3 separate regions of the Homo sapiens genome follow, and regions 1 and 3 are each linked to region 2. The links are contacts of gene promoters, found by promoter capture Hi-C in blood cells and fetal thymus (Javierre and others, 2016). All regions are on one chromosome and are shown on one strand. The core of a region is centred on a gene start or on the middle of the fragment in contact, and the rest is flanking DNA. Distances in the headings are between cores, read along the strand shown. Region 1 overlaps LINC03136 (long intergenic non-protein coding RNA 3136). Region 2 holds the start of SIAE (sialic acid acetylesterase). Region 3 overlaps HYLS1 (HYLS1 centriolar and ciliogenesis associated).

Evidence for each region. The method cuts DNA at HindIII sites, captures the fragments that hold promoters and counts their contacts. A CHiCAGO score of 5 or more calls a contact.
Region 1: a fragment that was not itself captured here is called in contact with the fragment with the promoter of SIAE in region 2 in 2 of 17 cell types (total B cells and non-activated CD4 T cells); the score reaches 6.0 in total B cells.
Region 3: a fragment that was not itself captured here is called in contact with the fragment with the promoter of SIAE in region 2 in 1 of 17 cell types (total CD8 T cells); the score reaches 7.6 in total CD8 T cells.

The regions. Positions count from the first base shown.
Region 1 is chr11:125,877,262-125,879,961 of GRCh38, reverse strand. LINC03136 (long intergenic non-protein coding RNA 3136) reads left to right here. Exons shown (of 2, transcript XR_007062935.1): 1 at 1-2,700. Among named protein-coding and RNA genes, the nearest start is that of LINC03136, 4.2 kb to the left of the region's middle. The HindIII fragment of the contact is 1,712 bases long and covers 395-2,106 here.
Region 2 is chr11:124,672,364-124,675,063 of GRCh38, reverse strand. SIAE (sialic acid acetylesterase) reads left to right here and starts at 1,325. Exons shown (of 10, transcript NM_170601.5): 1 at 1,325-1,422. The coding sequence starts at 1,356. SPA17 (sperm autoantigenic protein 17) reads right to left here and starts at 1,160. Exons shown (of 5, transcript NM_017425.4): 1 at 1,112-1,160. RefSeq lists an enhancer at 1,050-1,229 and silencers at 1,139-1,297, 1,270-1,389. The HindIII fragment of the contact is 8,074 bases long and covers 1-2,700 here.
Region 3 is chr11:125,898,361-125,901,181 of GRCh38, reverse strand. HYLS1 (HYLS1 centriolar and ciliogenesis associated) reads right to left here. Exons shown (of 3, transcript NM_001134793.2): 3 at 536-1,838. The coding sequence starts at 1,813. The coding sequence ends at 914. All of the region lies in intron 1 of PUS3 (pseudouridine synthase 3), which reads left to right. Among named protein-coding and RNA genes, the nearest start is that of PUS3, 3.4 kb to the left of the region's middle. The HindIII fragment of the contact is 713 bases long and covers 943-1,655 here.

The DNA of each region.
Region 1 (2,700 bases), core at 1-2,500, 1.2 Mb before region 2:
GCATGGGAGGTAGAGGCTGTAGTGAGCTATGATCACACCACTGCACTCTAGCCTGGACAACATCTCACCCAGGCTAGAAATCTCACCTTTGAAATCTCTTAAATGATAAGAGTGGCTTTTGAATGCTAGTGAGATGACTGGTTGCAGGATGGGGGCTGGTCACCAGAAAGACCGAGGCATGATGAGTGTTGGGACTTTCAGCCCCATCTCCCAGCCACCAGGGAGGGGAGAGAGGCTGCAGACTGAGTTGATCACCAATGACCAGTGTAATCAATCATGCCTATGTAATAAAGTTTCCATAAAAAGTTAAAAGGATAGCTTGTGGGGAGCTTCTGAATAGCTGAACATATAGAGGTTCCTTGAGGGTGGCATGCTCAGAGAGGGCATGGAAGCTTCATACCCCCCTCACATGCCTTGCCCTATGTACCTCTTCCAGCTGGCTGTTCATCTGTATCCTTTGTAATATCCTCCGTAATTAGTGAGTTGATGTAAGTAAAATGTTTGCCTGAGTTCTGTAAGCTGCTCTAGCAAGTTAACTGAATCTAAGGAGGGGGTTGTAGGGGCTCCCAATTTATTGCTGGTCAGTCAGAAGTATGGGTGACAGTCTACTACTTGTGACTGGCATCTGAAGCGGGGGGAATTCTTGCGGGCCTGAGCCCTCAACCTGTGGGATTTGACCCTATTTCCAAGTATATAGAATCATAATTGAACTAGAAGACACCCAGCTGATGTCCACTGCAGAGCTGATTGCTTGGTGTGTGGGGAAATAACTCCCACACATGTGGTGTGGGAAGTGTTGTGTTGAGTGGTATGTGAGAGTGGAGGGGAAAAAATGTTCACTAATTCAATTTCCTTTGTAGGGTTGTGATGAGAATTAAATTAAAAAGTGCATGTTAGCACAGTGTCTACCAAGTAATAATAACTAAATACATTATAGATATTGTATAGTATTGTTATTCTTTATTCTTACTCTTATTAGATGAATAGCTCCCTGCCTTCCCTTATATCTCTCTTGGCTCAATCCATCCTACGTCATTGCCAGATGAATCTTCCTAAAACTTTAATCAAGTTATTCTGCTTAAGCACTTGCAGTGACTTCTCTTTGCCAGAGTAAATTCAGTTTGCCTGGGTTCCTGCACAATCTGGAGCCATCGTGCCTTTTCAGTCTTATTTCCCCTCTACTCAAGTCCTCTACTCTAGCTAGTTTTGTTTCTTCGCTGTCCTGAAAGCCACTTGGTTTATTTAACTCTGTGCCCTATACTGCCTTCTTTATCTAGATTGACCTCTCCTCTCTTTCCAAATCCTGTGGAGCTCTTGAATTCTCAGCTCCAACTCACCTCTTCTACCAAGCCCTGCCTAACTACCCTTAAGCCATCGGAATCTGACCATCTTTGAAATTTTTGTAGCACTTGCTTTTATTTGTCATTTAACATCTACAACATTTAGATCGAGACTGTTACTATTCTGTTTAGTCTTATCTTTTCTTCTTGAGATGCTCATTCCTTTCCAATCTTACTTTCTGATATTTCATAATGTGAACCCTTCACCAGTATGTTTACTAAACACTCAAATGTCAGCTCTGATGATGATGGACAATCAAAAATGTCCCCAGACATCACCAAATGTCCACCGTGAGGTCAACATATCCAGGATTGAGAATCAGCATCTAGTATTCACAACATCTAGCATTGCTACATGATGATGATGATGATGAAGAGATGATGTACATTTCCACTGATAGTCATACACGGCCTTCTCTGTTTATGTCTTTCCAGCAATCACAAAGGCAGTGTGTTATACAGGAAACAGCAACAAAGGATCAGGAATCAGGAGACTAAAGTTCTGGTCTCAGTAATTTGCTCTCATAATTTGGATAAGTTAGTCAGTCTGTGTTTCAGCTACTTCACCTACAAAATCAATAGTTAAATGAGATATTGTTAATTGCTTCCATTCTAAAATTCTTTTCTTCTTAAATCTATTTTTTAAAGGCCAACTCATTTTTCTCAATTATTCTTACTTACATATTAAGCATTTTTACTCACAATTTGCCTTACTGTTATTACTTTTCCAAGTATATGTGTCTTATTCTCTCAAGAATATTAAGCTTTTTGGGGCACCATATGTCTTACATTTGTTGTTATTCATAACATCTAGTATTGCCACATGTACAATGAAAATCAAGTTTGGTTGAATTAATTTTGCTTTATTTTCATTTTTGGTAATTTTAGCCTTGGGATCCCTCAGAAGAAGAACATTTAGTTACTACCTTTCACTTAGTAATTTATTTCACTTAGTTCCTGTCCTGAAATTACTAATAATAAATGAGATTCCTCATTTGGGAGGGACAGATGTTGTAAATGTTGATGCAGAGTGAAAGATATTAATGTTGTAAATCAGGGTTTCTCAACCTCAGCACTATTGACGTTTTTGTCTTGATACTTCTTTTTTTATTTTTAATTTAATTTAATTTAATTTATTTTATTTTATTTTTGAGATGGAGTCTCACTCTGTCGCCCAGGCTGGAGTGCAGTGGTGCAATCTTGGCTCACTGAAAGCTCCGCCTCCCGGGTTCACGCCATTCTCCTGCCTCAGCCTCCCGAGTAGCTGGGACTACAGGCACCCGCCACCACGCCCGGCTAATTTTTTGTATTTCTAGTAGAGACGGGGTTTCACTGTGTTAGCCAGGATGGTCTTGATCTC
Region 2 (2,700 bases), core at 76-2,575:
ATTAGTATAATACAAACACAGACCCATTCACTAGGCCAAATCATTTAAAATCCTGCAAAAAACCCATAATTTTCAATATGACTTTTTCTCTCTTTACCCTTTATATGCTCAAAAGGTAAGGGTAATTTTTGCTATCACACAGGAATTTAGAGAGAATGATTGCTAAAAAGTTAAATTCATTGTCAATTGCTGAGAAGACCTTCTTTGAGGTCTATTTTTTTTTAAAGAGTAGAAATTAGTCCTGGTTCTAGAAATTAATTTGTTGAATGAAGAAGTTGCACAATCTTTCCCCTTGCTGCCACTTCTGAAGCATGACCCACAATGCTTCGAACACCTTCGTACTGTGGAATGGGGTTGTGCGTGCGTGTGTGTGAGGGAGGGATGGGATGGGATGGGGCTGTGTGTCATGATTTTGAAATCCCAGCCTCTAAAGTTTTAGAATTCTTATATTTTTCGGTTTCTTCTTGATCAGGTTGTCTCTTTCTGTCTTGAAATACAAGGGCTAGATTAAGGGTAGCTGCTAAGCAGCGGGCTGAGCTACTACTGAGTATGAAAAGAATCCTCCGGGACCTGGCCTGTTAATGTGAGAGTGTGCGTCAATGCGGAATAGAGGCGGAGGCCGTGGTAGGGGTCCAGGTTGGGAGAACTGGACGGTTTAATGAGGCTCAGACTATGGAGGGTTCTCGTTTCATCGCTTTTTTTTTCTTTGAGAGGGGGTCTCTGGCCTCGAACTCCTGGGCTCCAGCGATGATCCCGCCTCAGCCTCCCGAGCAATTGGGATTACAGGCGCGCGCCACCACGCCTGACTCCTCTCTTTTGCTTTTTCTGAGGGAGCAGTAGATGGGGGTATCGAACCATTCTAGAGTGGTGAAAAGAGCTGGCGAGATTCTGAACCAATGTGGGCAGAGGAGGGCGGGCGGAGGGGGCAGACGGGTCTAGTCGGGGGCGGGATGTTGAGGACCTGGGATTTCAGACTCGCGCAGAATGGGCTGCCTCGGCTCCCAAACGGCCCAGGGCTCCGAGGCTGTGTCTGGGATGCTGAGAGAATAAGAGAGACGAAGGGAAAAGGCTAGGTCTTGGTATCGGAGAGGAAGTGGGGAAGCGGCCTCACCTCCTTTCTCTCCGAGCTGGTGCCGCCGGTTCCGGTTGTTTTTCTAGTTGCTGGGTAACCGTTTTTTCTTTAAAAAAAAAAAAAAACTACGGCGGCCGAGAAGGGGCGAGTACAGCCCAGTCCTGAGGTCGCGGGAGGCTGCGAGGACTGCAAAAGGGTGGAGTCGGCCTCGCCCCCGCCCAGGCCCCGCCCCTGCCGGGAACCCACTTTCCCAGTCCTAGGCGGCGGTCAGATCCTTGCAAGCATGGTCGCGCCGGGGCTTGTACTCGGGCTGGTGCTGCCATTAATCCTGTGGGCCGACAGAAGTGCAGGTGAGGCGGCCCGGCTCGGCCGGACCCCTGCCCCTCAGCCTGTGCGGGCTCCGAGACCCCGTGTCCTCTGCGGGACACGGATCCGCGCCCCTTTCTCAAGGTCGACGAAGGAACCTAGCTAGGCTAGGGGCTCGCGTCTCCGACCGAGGCCCGGTCTGCAGGAGTCTGCTGGGTTGAACCCCGGCCTCTCCACTTTCTCCACCCCCCACTTACCATCCCTGACATGCAGCCTGTGAGCAGGGAGAAAGTGCGGCTTGTCTGAGTGGGGAGGCCCAAATGTGCCCAGAAAGAGGCCTTCGGGGTCCTGGAGTAACTGCAGGGGAGCTCGGAGGGAAGGAGGCGAAGCTAGTTAGGTAATATTTGGAAACAGGTGACTGAATCTTCCAAAACATTTCAGCGCTACCCCCTCAGTGGTGCCCTTGGGGAGGGTTTGCTTCAGGCGGGGTTCCTTAGGGGAATTAAATTTTACTCGTTTAAGTGGTTATCAGGGCTAAGAAATACAACCCCCTCACTAGCTCTGACTATTTAAGGCTCAGTTTTGATTTCTGGTACCGCTTACAGATATTGGTGGTGGGAAAATGTGAGTGGCATAGGGGAGGCTGGTGGCTCCCTTTGGCTGTTGCGCAGGTCAGATCTTGCCATTCGAATACCCTAGGCTGGACACTGGGTCACAGTATGGAGAAAGCAGAAGGTGCAATCTGTCTGATAATGCAAACTAAAGTGATAATGTTGGATTTCTTCCTTTCTGTTTCAAAACACTCAAAGAGTGGACCCCAGAGATCCCTGTTAAGAAATGATAGTTGGGGTAGGAGAACAGCGTGCAGAAAAATGACTCCTGCTCTACCTGAGAGCCGGAAAAGTACCTAGATTCAGACAAACTGCAGCCCATAAATGATTGTTCAGAGTCTAACAAAAGTGCAAAATGCTAGCACTCTGTATGCCATTTCCTGACTCTTATCTCCACTCAGTGACCTTTGAGATCCATCTTATGAGGTGGGGAAAAGATATTTTATTAGGTTTTCAGTTAAAGGCTGTTTATTTTAGTGTCAGTATTTTATCTCCTCCTTTGGGTCTTATTGTTACATCACCTTCATTAACATTGATCACATTTTTCATTCATTAGTACTCTACTTGGTTGCGTATCCTGACGTTTTTCCTTTAAGTCATTCTCCCTGTGCCCATGTTTACCATGTAATGCTTGAGATGTACAAAATTATATGTAACAATGACACAATAAAATGAACACCCATGAGAGCAGTACCCAACTTAAGAACTAGA
Region 3 (2,821 bases), core at 50-2,549, 1.2 Mb before region 2:
ATCCTGTATGTTATATGGTACTGTTTTGGGGCATTTGTTAGAAAGTATTTTAAAGCTACTTGGATTTGTTGTACACCTTTAGTAATGAGGCTATCCATGTTGTTAACCTCTCCCATCCTTTAGGACTATGTAAAAGGCAGGTTTTTGTTCCTTCTTTTTTTTTTTTTTTTTTTGAGACGGAGTCTCGCTGTCGCCCAGGCTGGAGTGCAGTGGCGCAATCTCGGCTCACTGCAGGCCCCGCCCCCTGGGGTTCACGCCATTCTCCTGCCTCAGCCTCCCGAGTAGCTGGGACTACAGGCGCCCGCCACCTCGCCCGGCTAATTTTTTGTATTTTTAGTAGAGACGGGGTTTCGCCGTGTTAGCCAGGATGGTCTCGATCTCCTGACCTCGTGATCCGCCCGCCTCAGCCTCCCAAAGTGCTGGGATTACAGGCGTGAGCCACCGCGCCCGGCTTGTTCCTTCTTTTGAGCTCTCATCATAGCCCAGGTTCAAGATCATCTTAGGCAAGTATTTCATGAAATAATGTTCAAGTTCATGAATTTCCAAAATTCTTTAATTGGTAAGTGTAATGCCCAGCAACTTAAAAAACACACACTGAAGCACAGCAACTCATATTGATAGGTAAAAAAAGTTACAGGACACAAAGGGCCCTTACTAATTTGACAAAATAGAAAGACCAGGTCTGTTGTTCTTTCTCTGATATGATTTATCTTGCAATTGCTGGATTTGAGTGGCAATTTGGAAGTATCATCTGATACCAATGTGATATATAGCTAGGAAAGACCAATGATAGGTGAAGTCCTTACCATAAAATGTTTCGAAGAGCTTCTCAAGACAGTTGTTTCTATTTAAAAGGGAAGATATAAAGAGCTAGGTTATCTCAAACAATCCTGTGAAAGAAGTTTAAAAAGATTTAAGAAGGAGAAAGAGGGAAGGGAAGCTTCCTGGGTATGACACCATTTGCAAGGTCACAACGAACACCCCAACGGAGTGCAGACCTTTTCTTCTCTGTTGGTACTAGATAATTGTTTGGGACATATATATGCTGAGGTTTGGATTGGGGTTCTGCTCGACAAAGCATCTGCTCTCGGACACCCCAGCGTAATTCCTTTCTATGATCTTCACCAGGTAAACGTATTGAGTCCCAGTCCCGTTTGTACTCAAAATACCGGGCTACCCGGTCTGTCTTGCCCCGGTTTCGGCTTAACTGGTCCAGCTTTGGGAGAATAAAGGACTTGGGTCTGCTGGCAACAATCAGGTCTTGTTCGTAAGCTGGAGAGCCCATTCCTTCTCTTTGTAGAGAGCAAATGAGCTGATCTTGAGAAATTCCTTGGTATTCATGTGGTAGGTTAAATTTTTGTGAAACATCAAATGAAGATTCCTTGTCTTCCTGGAACTGTACATTCATCAGCCTTTGTCTTAAGTCCCAGAGATCCTGATCATTTTCTGTACCAGATTCTGATTCACTGATAATCGACTCATCTGTTACTAATACTTCCCCATCTGGCTTTCTGCGCAGCACCTTTCTCTTCATCACTGGCTTTCGGAGTCTTTGGGAGGCCTCAGAGACTGTTTCTGAAGGGACATTACTTTCTACATGTGGGTACTGTAGTTGCACAGGAAGAGCAGGTCGCTTCCCTGGGGCTACTGAAGCTTTACTGTAGGGATCATATTGGATAGATTGGGCTTCTCTCCTGACATCTCCTTCACCCTGCCCTGCACAGATGTGGGTAAAAGCTGTAGCAGCTGCCAACATTCGTTCTTCTGGATCCATATTAGCCCATATTTGTCCATCAGGTAGAAGTTCTTCCATTGCTTCCCCTACACTGTAGGACCTTCTGCAAGAGATAACATTGGTCAGTTTTCTGATAATAAATTCCCAGCTCATAAATTGCTCATTCCCTTATCTCCGTTTTATAGCAGTCAAATGGAGAAAGAATGGCTAAGGCCATCATAAATTCAATACAGGGTAGTATCAGAACAGTTTAGAGGGGCATTAACTCAGTTCTAGGGAATCTATTACCTGCTTTCATTTCCACTCTTACTCCTGCTTTCTACTGTCTTGCCACCTTCAGGTCCTAAAACAGGACAGTATAGTTCTGGCATAAGAAAAGCTTGAAACTACATGATATGGGGCATACTGCTTAATGCACATTATGTAACAGGTACTTAGGGAGTACTTTATGTGCCTGCCATTGTTCTATGTGCTTTACATTTATTAATTCATGTAATTTTCAGCTGTGGGATTATCTGCTTTTCACAGATGAATAACATGAGGCACAGGGAAGTTAAATAACTTGCCCAAGGTTACTCAGCTAGTAAGTAGTGGAGCTGAAATTCTAACTCAAGCAGTTTGGCTTCAGACTGAGTCCCTGCTTTTAACCATAAAAGAGTGATTTGATCTAAAAAAAAAAAATCACAAAAGCAGTGTTGTGTTCTCTCACACACATATAATGTGTATATACGTGCATACATATAATTTCTATGCTTTAATAATTTTTTTTTTTGAGATGGAGTCTTGCTGTCACCTAGGCTGGAGTGCAGTGGCATGATCTCGGCTCATTGCAACCTCCACCTCCTGGGTTCAAGCGATTATCCTGTCTAAGACTCCGGAGTAACTGGACTACTACAGGTGTGGGCCACCACGCCTGGCTAATTTTTGAATTTTTAGTAGAGATGGGGTTTTACCATGTTAGCCAGGCTGGTCTCAAACTCCTGACCTCAGGCAACCCACCCGCCTCGGCCTCCCATTACAGGGGTGAGCCACCGCGCCCAGCTGTCTTGGTAGTTTTAATGCATCTTCAGTTGCCAGCTAAATCTG